5 separate regions of the Homo sapiens genome follow, and regions 2, 3, 4 and 5 are each linked to region 1. The links are contacts of gene promoters, found by promoter capture Hi-C in blood cells and fetal thymus (Javierre and others, 2016). All regions are on one chromosome and are shown on one strand. The core of a region is centred on a gene start or on the middle of the fragment in contact, and the rest is flanking DNA. Distances in the headings are between cores, read along the strand shown.

Evidence for each region. The method cuts DNA at HindIII sites, captures the fragments that hold promoters and counts their contacts. A CHiCAGO score of 5 or more calls a contact.
Region 2: the fragment with the promoter of KMT2A here is called in contact with the fragment with the promoter of DDX6 in region 1 in 1 of 17 cell types (fetal thymus); the score reaches 5.8 in fetal thymus.
Region 3: a contact is called between the fragment with the promoter of CD3D here and the fragment with the promoter of DDX6 in region 1, in 1 of 17 cell types (fetal thymus). The highest score is 5.2, in fetal thymus.
Region 4: the fragment with the promoter of HINFP here is called in contact with the fragment with the promoter of DDX6 in region 1 in 1 of 17 cell types (non-activated CD4 T cells); the score reaches 5.2 in non-activated CD4 T cells.
Region 5: the fragment with the promoter of CBL here is called in contact with the fragment with the promoter of DDX6 in region 1 in 1 of 17 cell types (neutrophils); the score reaches 5.1 in neutrophils.

The regions. Positions count from the first base shown.
Region 1 is chr11:118,789,848-118,792,547 of GRCh38, reverse strand. DDX6 (DEAD-box helicase 6) reads left to right here and starts at 1,384. Exons shown (of 14, transcript NM_004397.6): 1 at 1,384-1,450. RefSeq lists enhancers at 1-552, 1,169-1,278, 2,589-2,700, 2,227-2,700 and silencers at 609-898, 1,349-1,678, 2,309-2,388. The HindIII fragment of the contact is 4,863 bases long and covers 1,201-2,700 here.
Region 2 is chr11:118,435,081-118,437,780 of GRCh38, reverse strand. KMT2A (lysine methyltransferase 2A) reads right to left here and starts at 1,289. Exons shown (of 36, transcript NM_001197104.2): 1 at 837-1,289. The coding sequence starts at 1,268. RefSeq lists enhancers at 1-320, 321-1,319, 1,981-2,120, 1,320-2,317 and a silencer at 1,191-1,670. The HindIII fragment of the contact is 8,732 bases long and covers 1-2,700 here.
Region 3 is chr11:118,341,255-118,343,954 of GRCh38, reverse strand. CD3D (CD3 delta subunit of T-cell receptor complex) reads left to right here and starts at 1,250. Exons shown (of 5, transcript NM_000732.6): 1 at 1,250-1,402. The coding sequence starts at 1,348. The HindIII fragment of the contact is 13,588 bases long and covers 1-2,700 here.
Region 4 is chr11:119,120,249-119,122,948 of GRCh38, reverse strand. It overlaps HINFP (histone H4 transcription factor), which reads right to left and starts at 1,369. Exons shown (of 10, transcript NM_198971.3): 1 at 1,310-1,369. RefSeq lists a silencer at 1,356-1,635. The HindIII fragment of the contact is 5,005 bases long and covers 537-2,700 here.
Region 5 is chr11:119,204,938-119,207,637 of GRCh38, reverse strand. CBL (Cbl proto-oncogene) reads right to left here and starts at 1,299. Exons shown (of 16, transcript NM_005188.4): 1 at 1,026-1,299. The coding sequence starts at 1,220. RefSeq lists silencers at 782-841, 1,032-1,221, 1,292-1,681, 1,722-1,791. The HindIII fragment of the contact is 20,442 bases long and covers 1-2,700 here.

The sequences.
Region 1 (2,700 bases), core at 135-2,634:
CCTTACTGAATTCCTATTTCTATTATAACTGACGCTTCACTAGCTTCCCTCCCTTTAGTGGAGGGCCCGGCCTCCTCCGCCCCTACTTTCTTCAGTCTTGCCCTTCGAGGGCAGGAGAAGACGGTTGCGCCCTACTAACTCTTCACCTTACAGTCCAGCTTCTCCCCCCACCACCCCGGTGCGCTCTCTCGGTTTGCTACCCTCTCCACCAGGCCTCCCCACTCCACCTGCGCAACGCCCCCAGCTCCGTGCTCTCCGGAGTAATCCCCCCTCAGTCGCACTCTCACAGCCCGGCCCCTGCCCCCGCCTCACCCCCAGTTGTGCCTTCACCTCCCGGTTCCTCCTAGACAGGTCCCCCAAGATACGCCCTCACAGTCCGGTCCCCCGCCGTCCTCTCCCGGCGCACGCTCAAGTCCGGTGCCTTCCCCCCGCAGACCCCCGAGGCGCACCCTCAAGCTCGGTGCCTCTGCGCCCCCCGCAGGGGCGCCCTCAAGCCTGGTACCCTTCACATGAGAGCCCCCCGGGCGCACCCTCAAGCTCGGTGTACCCCCCCATACCACCCGCAGGCGCGCCCTCATGCCCGAAGACTTCCCCCGCCCAGGTGCACCCTCAAGCCCGGTGCCTTCCCCCACAACCAGCGCCCCCAGGCGCACCCTCAAGCCCGGAGCCTACCCGCCGCCAGGCGCGCCCTACAGGCTCGCCCCGTCCCACCGCGCAGCGCCCCCCGCGCACTCTCTGGAGTCCTCCCTCCTGCCTGGTGCGGCCTCCGGGCCCGGTCGGCCCCCCTTCCTGCCCCCACACTCAGACGCGCGCCCGGCGTCTCCGGGTCGCTAGTTCCGCGCCTTCCTGCATGGAGGCGCGCCCCGAGAGGCTCGGACGCGGCCCCTTAGGCCCGGCATCAGCCTCCCCGGCCAGCTGGAGAAGTCAGGTCAGCTTCCTGTCCCCGAGCAGCTGCCCGGGGGCCAGTTTTCAAAACATATCCTTAGTCATGTAATAAAGAGATGTTCCTCTGGTCTCAACTCCCGATTTTTACTTTGGAGGGGCGAAGGCAGGCCTACCCTTGCCAGCCACCATTTCTCAATCACGTCGCGGCTGTGGAAAAGCAGCCGTCCTGTCCCTTCAGAAAGGAACTCGTATTTCCCCCTCGAACTTTTCTCGTCGGTGTGAGAGAAGGGCCCTCCATTTTCTCCTCAGGAAGCTTTCGCGGCCCGACTTCCTCTCACCACCAGGCCAGGAAGGCAGTGACGCCGCGGCGAATATAGCCGCGGCGGCCGAGGTTTCGCCATCTTGAGTGGAGGAGGAGCCGCGGTCGCCGCCATGCGGAGAGGCAGGGAAAGAGGGAGGAGGCGGCGGGCGGGCGAACGGGCGAGCGAGGGAGGGGGCAGAGGAGCCGAGTTAGCTCAGCCAGGCGGCGACTTCGGCGGCGCCACGAGAGCGGGCAGCGGAGGAGGTAGGGCTGGACAGCCGGGGGAGCCGGCGGCTCGGGCGGCTGGCCTGCGCGCCCCTCGGAGCGGGGCGGGGGCGGGGGCGAGAGGAGGCCGTAGCGAGAGGGCTGGGTGGGGGCGGGCGGAGGTTTCCGAGGAGGAAGGAGCGTCCGCCATTTTGGGAGCTTCGAGTCAACAATAAAGGACCGAGGGTGCCGAGCGGGAGTGGCCTCGTTGGTAGGACACGGGCCCGAGTCGCGAGGCTTGGGGTGAGGTGGTGGGGTCGAGGTCAGCGGTGCTTTGGGGGCTGTGGGGAGCCCCCCGGGCCGGCTCTGGGGGACTCTCGGGCGGAGGCCTAAGGCCTGGCCGGGCCTGGGGAGGAAGGCGGTCGGCAGCTGTGTGGGGTGGGAGCGCCTGAGAGGAGGCGAATATAGGAATGTGGTGCGCAGCAGGGTCGGCAGGAGGAACAGGCTAAGTACTCGGAGTAGCTTTATCGAAGATGAGGGAATATGAGGCCGAAGGGGGCGGCAAGGACTTAGGGGGATGATGGTGGAGGTTATAGGGTACGAGGCGGCCCTATAGGGGGCGGCAGGGACATGCTGTATTGGAGGGCTCGGTTTAGAAGCAAACCGGCCGCTGCTTGATTGCAGTAGGCCTTGCGGGTCAATAACAAGAGGGTATTTATGGAGCCCCCGACTCTTGGAGGAAAGGAGGGGGATTTCTGGTTTAGGGGGTCCATTTGGGGCCTCCTTGGGGGAGTCCCTATTGTTTGCTACTAATGGAGCGGTTGCTGGCTCATATTGCGCAGATAAGATTGCAGAGCCCCAACCTTTTGTGTTTATGGTCAGAAGTGTGTGTGTTTGGGGCGTGGGGCGGGGTGCGGGGGGACAAGAAATTTCCTTTCAGTTACGGGGTTCCAGTCATTAGTCAATGACTCTTTCCCGTATCTCTCTCCTTTCTCTTCCTCAGCCCCCATTTCCCTTCAGAATAAAACCCAGTCACTCCAACTTGCAGGCAAAGCTAGAAAAACTGCGCTGCATTTGCAAACAAAAGCTCTTGTTGGCGATGACGATACTGTTTTGGGTGTGAAACTGTCAATTGCTAACTACGATCTGTGAAGTGCTGTAATTAACTCCGCTAGGGGCTCCTCCCAACTAGTCTACGTTTCTTGTTGTTTGTTTTTTGTTTTTTTGTTTTTTGTTTTTGAAAATGTAGAAAACTTGCAAATCTAAATTGGGAAGGGGTAGGAGGAATATTTCCTTCTCTGAGAAAAAGC
Region 2 (2,700 bases), core at 40-2,539, 350 kb after region 1:
CTAATCCTTCATTCTAAAGGAGGGAAAGGGTGGAGTGAAGGTAGAGTAATTCCCGGCTACCAATAGGCTAGAAACTGTAGCCCTGTAAGACGGGGCGGGGGGGGGAAGAGACTGCTGTATGAGGAATCACCGTTATCTTCAGAGGGAAAGGAGGTGAGACCAGGCAAGGTGCAGAGGAGAGATTTTCCCCGGTGGGGTAGGGCGGGATGGGGGAGGATCGGTCTGCTTGGGGTGGGGGTAGAGGGTGGAGGTGAAGGAAGGGGGAGTGGCTGGCAGTATAGGGACCTGGCCCGGGGATGGCGCGAGGGTTCATCGGGTTTTCGAAAGCAAGGTGCTGGAAGGGACACGATCCCCAAGGGCCAGGAGAACGTGGCCCTGGATGAGGCCATCACCCGAGAGACGCCCGAGAGGAAAACTGCCCTAGGAGTAACACATCTGCCCAGAGAGGGAGGCGGGGATGTGGCGGGATCAGGTCTCTAGGAGGGAGGGAGGGAGGAATCTTGCTCGGATGAGGTAATCTGTGAAAGGGAGGAGGGGTTCAGTCCCGGGATGGGAAACCCCGGCGAGGGGGTCTGTGCCAAGGGATTTGGGGAAGGGTCAGGGGGAGGAGAGCGGGGGGCAAACGCCCTCAGCCAGATGGGCCCAAACCCCGGGGTGGGGGCGCCTGGGGGTCTGCAGCCCTGCATGGGGGTCCCAAGATGGGAGAGCCATTCGCCCCGGGTCAGGGACCCCGAGATGGTCCCAGAATTGGGATGCTCCTCAATCCCGGATGGGGGAGGGGAGGGGGCTCCGCAGAGGGTCGAGACCCCGGACCTGGGGGTTCCTCGCCCCCTTACCTCTCCGCTGCCGCCTCCCCCGCCGCTCTCCCCAAACACGGCCCGGAACCGGCGCAGGTTGGTGCCGATGGCGGCCGAGACCTGCAGCGCCGCGTCGAAGCCCGGGCCCACCCGGAGCAGGGCCGGCCCTGAAGAGGCTGAGGACGATGACGAAGACGAAGACGAGGCGGACGACGAGGAGGCTGCTGAGGCGGCGGCCGCTCCCCCTGGAACCCCAGCCCCGCTGCTTCCCGCCGCCGCCGCCGCGGCCGCCACAGCCGGGGGGGAGGGGGGCGCCCCGGGGCCGCCACCGCCGACCGGGGGCCCGGGGGGAAGCAGCAGGGCCGGGACGCGTTGCCGCGGGGCGCCCCCTAGGCCCCGGCGCCCCCCGCCGCCGCCGCCCCCGGTGGTCCCGGGTCGGGCGGGGAAGCGCCACCGACAGCTGTGCGCCATGTTCGCCCCGTGAAGTGAAGCAGCGAGAGGGAGAGGCGACAACACAGGGGGGCGGGGAGGCGGAGGGGGGGGCACGGGGCCCCGGAACCTGCCTAACCAGCTCTGCGCCGCCCGGCCGCCTGCACCCTGCCGGCCGCTATGCAGAGCGCCGGGCCGCGCCCGCCAGCCCCGCAATCTGTATAGCGGCCTCGGGCCTCCGCCTCTGACGCCTGGGCGCTGCAACTCCATCCCGAGGCCCGGGCCGCCGCCTCCTGCCCGCCCGCCGGCCCCGCAACCTGGATAACTGCATGCCCCGCCCTCCGGGAGAGGCATTGCTCGGGAAAAGGAGGGGGGAAGGAAGCCCGGGAGCCCGGAGCAGAGCGCGGGTTCCGGAGAGAGGGGGAGGGGGCGAGGACTACGCGGAGGATGGAGGCGTAGGGAGCCGGGCCGCCTGCAGCCTTGAGCGCCGAGAGGCCGATTACACACGTTCCCGGGACGCGCTGGGAATCGAACAGCCCGGGAGAGCAGCTTCCAGTATAACGCGGCGGCTGGGTCGGGGAGCAGTGAGCCTTCTCCTCCGCCCCAGGGCACGGATACAAGATGGGTTAGCCCGAATTGAACGCTTCTAGAATAAAAGAGCCCTTATTGTACTACATGCAAAACAGAAGCGCTGCCCAGTTTACTATATGCAAAACAGAAAGGCCCTCAATGAACGCACTTTAAAAAATAAAAAAGGAGCCCCTCCCATTTTCATGCTGGAGCTCTTTCCAAAAAGCACACACCGAGTGGCAGGTCTCCTGCCACCTCCTCGCTCTACTGTGCACTCGTCTGGCTTTCGTGCCCTTCTGCAGGGAGTTGGGTTGTGTTTCTCCAGCCCGGGCACTGAGGCCACGGCGTGCTCCGCTAACGACGCGGTGTTACAACGAAGCTGAAGCTGGGTGGCTAACGGGGCCTGGAGGGAAGAGGCGGGCAAAAGCGCCCCCGCCCCTTCTTCCTCCGGTCTCTGCCTGCCGCTGCATGCAAAGCAGACCCTAATGTATGCACGCAGAGGGAGGGGGGCTCGCGAGCACGTTTCTGATTAAGAGAGGGGGAGGAGGAGAGCGTTGGGCATTATGATACACTGGGTGGAAGGGGCCCGCCGGCGGCGAGCTCTGTGCGCGGGGTTAGTAAGCTGAGGGGGGAGGGGGAAAGAAGGAGGCGAGTTAGGGAGGGGAATGAATATCCACCGGGTTTACTTTATTGCGGGAAAGAGGGGAGGGCGCCTCGAGCATAGCGTTAGACGCCTGCAAGGCTGGGAAAGCCGAGAGGGTAGGGAGGGGTTTGTGTCGGGAGAACTTGCGTTGGCTGAGGCTGGGGGATCGATACACAGCCTGCAGGCCCCGGGGCAGCCTCCATCCCCCAAGCCGAGGGGGAGTTCGCTGGAAGGTCATGCAGCCTTCCTGGACTCCCGCAC
Region 3 (2,700 bases), core at 1-2,500, 450 kb after region 1:
AAGCCACCTCAGTCCAGGCCTTCATTCAGGAATTTTTTTCACTTTTTTTTTCTTTTTCTTTTTTGAGACAGAGTCTCACTTTGTTGCCCAGGCTGGAGTGCAGTGGCGCTATCTCAGCTCACTGCAACCTCCACCTCCGGGGTTCAAGCGATTCTCCTGCCTCAGCCTCCTGAGTAGCTGAGATTACAGGTGCGTGCCAGCAAGCCCGGCTAATTTTTGTATTTTTAGTAGAGACGGGGTTTCACCTTGTTGGTCAGGCTGGTCTCGAACTCCTGACCTTGTGATCCACCTGCCTCAGCCTCCCAAAGTGTTGGGATTACAGGCGTGAGACACGGCACCTGGTTTCACTATTCTTTTGAGATCATGAAAGAGGCGCCTGGAAGGCAATAGGTGGAACAATTCCGAGGACAGGCCAGCACATTTTCAGGGGCCAGAGCCCGGACTGAATGTCCAGGATCTCAGGCCCCTATCTCCCTCAGCCAGTCAGTCAGTGAGCCAACAAAAATGTGCAGAGCTCCCGTTATGTGCCAGGCACAAGATACAGCAGTGAGCAAGACAGGCATGACTCTGTCCCCAGGTAAGTGACAGTCTAACTGCAGCAGCGTGAAGAGTTTCAGATCCTCGTAGGCCACAGGGGAAAAAGGTCCATTTGTCTCACCGGGAGGCTCAATATTGCCTGTCAGTCAATTATATTATTATTAATAACTACCCCTTAATGAGCACATATGATGCGTGAGGCACCATGCAAATATCTTGTTTGAATCCTAATAATGGTACTAATGGAATAAGACTCTGAAAAATTTTATGGCTGGCCCAGGCCCCACAGGTAGGCAGTATTGGACCCAGGATTCAAATCTCTGGCTGGGGTCTCTAAAGCCCAACCTCCCACTGACAAGAAGCTGCTAGATCTGGTGTCCCTGGCTGCCTAGTGAAGGGTCCTGAGAAAGATCAGCCTCCATGAGAAATCTAGCTGCTACGGCTTGCGCTATGGGGCCGACGGCTTCTCTCAAGGGGCTTCGAGATGTGGCAGTGTTTAGGTTGTGTGTAAATGTGGTTGCATTGTCAATAGGGACGCTAAAGTTCAGGCCACCTTTTCCATATTCTCTGCCAGCTCCCTGCTCAGAGATAGAGCAATTTACACCGCTTCCTTCCTACCCTACCCCTAGCCCACCCCCACTCTGAAAATTTCCCACCATCAACGGCAGAAAGCAGAGAAGCAGACATCTTCTAGTTCCTCCCCCACTCTCCTCTTTCCGGTACCTGTGAGTCAGCTAGGGGAGGGCAGCTCTCACCCAGGCTGATAGTTCGGTGACCTGGCTTTATCTACTGGATGAGTTCCGCTGGGAGATGGAACATAGCACGTTTCTCTCTGGCCTGGTACTGGCTACCCTTCTCTCGCAAGGTAAGGCTACTCCAGGTGGGTGGGGGAAGGGACCTGAGAGGGACATTACTGATGGGAGTGAGGCCCACTTGAAAGTGTTTCTTGCCAGGCACGGTGGCTCACACCAGTAATCCCAGAGCTTTGGGAGGCCGAAGTGGGAGGATCCTTTGAGGCCAGGAGTTTGAGACCAGTCTGAGCAACATGATGAGACTCTATCTTTACAAAAAACAAAAGAATTAGCCAGGCATGGTGGTGCACAACTGTAGTCCCAGCTATTTGAGAGGCTGAGGCAGGAGGGTCACTTGAGCCCGGGATTTCAAGGCTTCAGTGAGCTGTGATCATGCCACTGCCCTCCAACCTAGGCAACCTGTGAGACCTTATCTCAAAAAAAAAAAAAAGTGCTTCTCGGTGCTAGCTTCAGTTCACCAGGCACCCCAGGGGTGTCAGGAGGGCAGGGGCAGGATGTAGCATAGAGTCTGGGAAACAGGCTCTTGGCTTTGACTGACTCCAGCCATGGGTGCATGTGGGCCTAGAATGTCTCTCAGAAGGCCTTAGGCCAGAGATCTGCAGAAAATAGCTCAGTACGTATGTACCTGAATCTGGGACTGGCCATGGGAGCACAGCTTCCTGCACTACTCCTTTTAGGCCTGATGGCCTCTGGAATCAGGACTCTTGTTTGTTTGGCCATGATTATGTCATCCCTGGAGGCATGTCCTAGCACTTATGTGAATGCTTTAAGAGAAGTTAACTTTAGGTTGAGCAGGACGGAGGGAAGATTTGAGGGGTTGTTACATGGTAGGATTTTAACTCATCTCAGTTTGCCAATTTCAGTTTTAAAATGGAAAGTCCCATGTCCGAGGAACCCCTTCAACACTAAGCAAACTGGGTCCAATGGTCACCTAATAGTTGGCTGCACTAGGGCACTCAGGATTTCCACTGGAGACAGATCCCTGAAGAGGACGCGACTGTAGGACGTGAAGCATTTGATGTGCATGTGTCTCCCTGAGGATACATGCATATACTTCCAACCTGCTTCAGAAGTGTGAGCAACAGCTGTTTCAGGGTTTTCTAGAAGATGCTCTTGTATCCAAATTTGGGACTTAGTGTGAAGCCCAGGATGAATGAATGTAGCCTCCACTTTTCCCTGTGTTTGGAGGCATAGACTGTAGTGCCTCTGTGGCCTGTGGAGATGTGCTCAGGCTGTCAGAGGAACTCACTGCATCTGGAATGTTGCTGCACTCACCTCCAGCCCTAAAAGTCTCCCACAAGACTTGACTTGTGAGGAGCTCTAGGGATGGATTCAATAAAATTTTTTTCCT
Region 4 (2,700 bases), core at 120-2,619, 330 kb before region 1:
GTCTTGCCATGTTGGTCAGGCTGGTCCCAAACTCCTGACCTCAAGTGATCCGCCCGCCTCGGCCTCACAAAGTGCTGGGATTACAGGTGTGAGCCACCGCGACAGGCCTACCTATGCAACTTCTATTCGCCTTTCAAACCCCAAAGTCTTCTCTTTGATGACCCCCTTCCCAATTCATCCAGGTACAGCTGGCATATCCCATCTCTTGCCCACGGCATCCACACACATCTTTGCTATCAATGCAATGAAACTTGTTTCCCCTAGACTAGGAGTTTCTCAGGACAGTGGCCATCACTTATTCACTTCTCATTCTCAGATTCAGCACAGAGCTTTGCACACCCCAGGTACTCAATAAATATCAGGAGATAATCACATTCCGGGAAGCCTTCCTAAACTACCCCATCCCTGAATCTACTCTTGCTCCTTAGTTCTATGGCTGGCACAGCTGACACCATAAAACTTCAACCCTATTTTCATGTTGCCATGGTCGTTTTATGTGTTCTAGTCTCGTTTACCCAATTGGACTATAAGAAGCTTCTGAGCAGAAACCATATCACACCTGCCCGTGTCCCTACACTGTGCCGAGCACAAATATTCTAAACATACACCTGCTGTTAGACTGGTGGGTAAGTCCAAGGAGGCAAGCTAGCTGGCGATACAGAATGATCTGAAACCTAGGCAAAACTCCCTGACGCTCTCTGACTGTCCTCCTGTCTTCTTTAATTTCTCTTTCTGTGTCTCTTGTTTCTACTCTGAGGAGATAGGGGCATGATCTTCACTCTACCCTCTTAACACTTAAGAGGGCATATACTGTAACGCAAGACAATGAATGAACTGTGGTATTCAAGAAAAAAAGGGTCCTAAACGCCTAAGAACTCATAATTTGGCCAAAAAGATAAGACTGATACGTGAAGACAACGACCGAAACAAAGTACCCGATGAGGGAGACCAGGACAGAGAGACACCTCCGCGGTCAGGCGAAAAGGAAGTCTCCCCTAAGCAGTGGGGCCCGCACCACGCCTCGAAGGACAGGTAGAATTTGGACAGAAGGAAGGAGACCGTCCCGTTGGGCAAAACCTCTCCACTCGCAGTCCCGCAGGCTTCCCGGAATCCTTCACGCTAAGGCGTGGCGGCGACCGAGTCTCAGCCGCAGCGAAGCCCCTAGACTAGAAAGCAGGGAGGTTCCAGTCGGGGTGAGGGGACCGGACCAGGGCAGACCAGCGTGGCCAAGCGGCAAGAATACTCGCCGAGGTGGCTCGGGAAGAGCTTGGCCTCCTGCAGCCCCTGCAGAGCACATACCCCAGCTTACCGTCTGTCGGCTCCAGGTCTCTTCAGCTCTTCTCCCACCTCAGACCATCTCCGGAGAGGCGCTTGAGGGACGGTCAAGGAAAGCCAATCGTCGTTCTCGGATCCGACTGACAGCCAATGGTAGCTGTGTCTGGCGGAACCCGTGCGCACCAAAACACGGAAGGGGCGGGAACAGTGGGTGGGGCTAGGCGTCCCGGGCGGACAGAGGGGCGACAGGATACGTGCAAAAGGTAGCACGTGACCGCGCCTCGCTGCTCAGGGCAACGCAAAGGCGGGGAGCCTATGGGCCTGAGTTCCCCTAACTGCGCAGGCTCGGCCTCCGGGACCCAACGGGCATGCGCAGGGCTCGCGCCTGGTGCGCAGTGGGGTCTCCCTCACGTGGTTCTTCGCTTTAGTTGGCTGGTTGCGTGGGCCTCGCGGAGAAAAAGGCGTGGGATGCTGCCCAGCGCTGTCGGCCCCGCTCGGCTCAGATTGAAGGTTCTACCCTTTCCTTCAGCCTCTTAGTCTTATTATGTTTTAAATGTTGGTATTATATGTTTCTCTTTCCCCCCAAAACTCGGCTTCCCTTCATCCACTCGTTCAGGTCAGAAAGCTGGCAGTCATCACTGATTCCTCTCACTTCTCACATCCAATCCATTGCCAAGTTCTGTGGATTCTACCTCCTTTTAAAACAGGATATTTCAAATTTATCCCCTTTTGTTTATCTTCACCGCCTCCCCCACCTCCCCTGTCCAGTGATGACCTCCAGGCAGGATTTATACATTAGTCTAATGGGTCCCGCTGCGTGCACACTTGCTTCCTTCCAAAGCATTCTCCACTTTGCAAAAAGCAGACCTGATCAAGTTACCATCTGCTTCAGACAATTCAAAGGCATTCTATTGCTTTCAGGGCAAAGCTCCAAAACCATACTGAGGTTTTCTAGACCCTTCAGCATCTGGGCTCTCCCTGTCTACTTTTTTTTAGTCCTTCTCGACCATATTTCTTGCTCTCCAGTCGCAAATTTCTTTCACCTTTTCCACCACACCAAGCCACCTTTTACCTCTCAAGCCTTGAACTTGTTTTCTTTACCTGGAATAATCCCTTTCTCCTCCTCCCACATTTATTTGACTGACTCCTACTAATTTTTATGGTCTCAGTGTAGATGCTTCTTTTTCCAAAAAGTCTTCCTGATAGTCCTTTCTTGTATTTAACAATACAGCTCAGTCACATTGTATTTGTCTGTTTACTCTCAGTCTGCATTCTTCACTAGACTAGTTCTTCACCTTTATAACTCCATCAGTGGGCCGGGTGTCGTGGCTCACGCCTGTGATCCCAGCACTTTGGGAGGCCGAGGCGAGTGGATCACATGAGGTCAGGAGCTCAAGACCAGCCTGGCCAACATGGGGAAACCCC
Region 5 (2,700 bases), core at 50-2,549, 420 kb before region 1:
ATACTTGAGACTGACTACATTTCATCATATAGACACAACTATAAGGAAGTAAAATTCTCCCAAATGACAAACTTAGTGGCTAAATATAAAGGAGTTATTTTTGTTCGCACTTGCAAAAAGCAAACAAACAAAAAAGCGTAATCAAAGAAGCTCAACGAACAAGTTTAAAGTCAGGACCTGTAATAAGGAGTCAGAACCGTTACCAGAAAAAAAGAACCCAGCTCAAGCGATGTAGTAGGGAGGAAGTTATTAAGAAGTCAGAATCTGCTGCTGCTTAACAGGCTCAGCCAGTCCATCTTTCAGAAGATAATAGTTCTAACCAGAACTTGTGGTTTAATCAGTGCATATCTCAGCACCAGCAATGGATCACATCCAGTGTTTCTGAGGGTAACAAAAAACTTGAGCCGGCGCTAGATGGGGAGGAAAGTTCTTTCCTTGCCTCACTTAAACATCAATATGTCTTTTATCTTCGTGTTACATCTTAATGAGAAAGGACTATACTCTCACCCAGAGCACAGCTTCCCTGAGAGCTGTCCTGACCCCAGCCAGGTTCCTCAGTCAGAGCCCATGAACCTAATTCCCTAGTCAGATCTCACCCAGCCAAGAGCCCCAGCCGGTACATCACTCTTCCTCACCCCCTCCCTGCTAACCTCCCAGGCCAATTCCGTGACCTACATCCCTACACCCTGCACAGAGCCCCAAACTCCGCACCCCTCATTGTACTTCCGCCCCACTGACTTCCCAGTTAACCTTCGCCCCAGCCCCCACTCCATCTTTGTCTGGCTACCCCAAACGCGGCACCCCAGCGTTCCCCGACTCCCAACGGCAGCCCCTCCCCCACGCCGCCCCCCACCCTCCCGGCCTCGTCCCTGCCCCCACGCCCCCGGCCGGTCACCCCGGCTCCGCGCCTCCCCGGCTTCACCAGACCCGTCCCCTCCCCCGCTTCCTCCGTCCGCTCGTTCCCCTCCCCGCGGCCCTCCGCCCACGCCCACCCTGCAACAGCGGGCGCTCAGCCGGCCTTTCACCTTGTCCATGAGCTTCCAGCACTTCTCCACCATCTTCTTGTCCACCGTCCCCGGCGGGTGGGGGCTGAGGTGGTGGTGGTGGTGGTGGTGCGGCTGGAAGGCGTCCTTCATGAGCCCAATCAGGCCACCCGAACCCGAGCCCCCGGAGCCGCTGCCGCCCCCGGCCCCAGAGCTCTTCTTCACGTTGCCGGCCATGGCCTGGGCAGGGTCGGAGCCCAGGCGGGTCCGCCGGCTCGGCTCGACTGCGAGCGAGGGAGAGAAGCAGGGCGTGAAGGAGGGGCCTCTCCCGGCCGCCGCCGCCGCCGCCGCCGCCGCCGCCGCCGGCTATCCGGGCGGAGGGAGGAGCGGCCGTGGGGAGGGGAGTGGGCGGCGCCGGGAGTGCGCGGGACGCGCCCCTTCAGAGCGCGCGAGCCCGGGGCGGGCGGGGCGCGTCCCGGAGGCGGACCGGCTTACTGGTAAGCTCGGGGAAGCGGCCGGCCGCGGCCGGACTGGGCAGCGACGATCCCCGGGCCACCGGCTTCGAGCAGCTCGCGTGCCCACAGCTCCCGGAAAGCCGCGGCCAGGTTTCTGTGCCCGTCTTCCCCGCCCCTACGCCGGGGCGGGGCGGGGCCAGGCTGGGGCGGGGTCGGCGGAACCTTTGGGCCTGCGCCCTCTGCTGGAGAAACGGGGAAAGGAGCGGCGGGGGGTTGGGGAGTAGGTCCAAGGTGGAGTCTGCGCAGTAGCCAGAAACCAAGACTTCCATGCTCCTTGTGGGCGGGAGGTTGGCGCTTCTGGGGTGGGTCATGGGAATGTTTAAATTAAGACAGGTGGCGATGGAATGGAAGAGTCCTGATGTCAAGTCTTTCCCCACCCCTGACAAATGAGGAAATCGAGCTTAGAGTTATTTGTTTATTTACACTGTGGGAGGATGGTGGGAGAAAAAGGAAAGTTATTTCTCCACCCCTTATTATTTTCAATTCTTCATTAAGACACGACCAAGGACAGGAATATGAATGCTGCGGCCCATTCCAGCCGGATTAGGCCCCAGAAAGCCTTGAGACACTCAAGCCAGGACCTCTTCTTCCAGGCCCTTTGACCTCTTGAAAAGAAATCACTTCCTTTTTTTATTTTTTATTTTTATTTTTTTGGCTTGTGAAGACTAGTTACGTTTCTGGGAATTGAATCTCAAACATGTATTTAAGATTCTCCTACTCAGAGCATTGCACCACAGGTCGGCGCCGCCAGCATGAGGGCCCCCTCAGAAGCTGACCTGCTGCTGGCTCCGCCCGAGGGGGTTCTCTCTCCCGCCCAGGGAACAGAAATGCTGTTCCTGGTCACTTCCACTTCTCAGTCAATTACACTTCTCTAATGTAAAAGTTCCGTTGGAAGAACTTTGAAAATAGGAACTTCCCTTCCAAAGAGGGAAGTGCCCTGCCCTAATTTACTAATTCTGAGCCTCAGTTTTGGGAGTTTGCAGACCCAGGTGTGTCAGTATCAGTTCCGCCTTCGATCCCCCTCCAGGCTCTTCCACAAAGCCCTTGACAGATTAGGGAGTTAAATTTATCCGGTGCTCCTGTAAAGGGGAAAATATCTTTGAATGCAGGGACCATTCAGACAGGCATCCTGGGTTTGCAATTTAATCGCCTTTATCTAGAATTGATTTTGGAGTCAACATTATAATTTACTATCAGAAGAA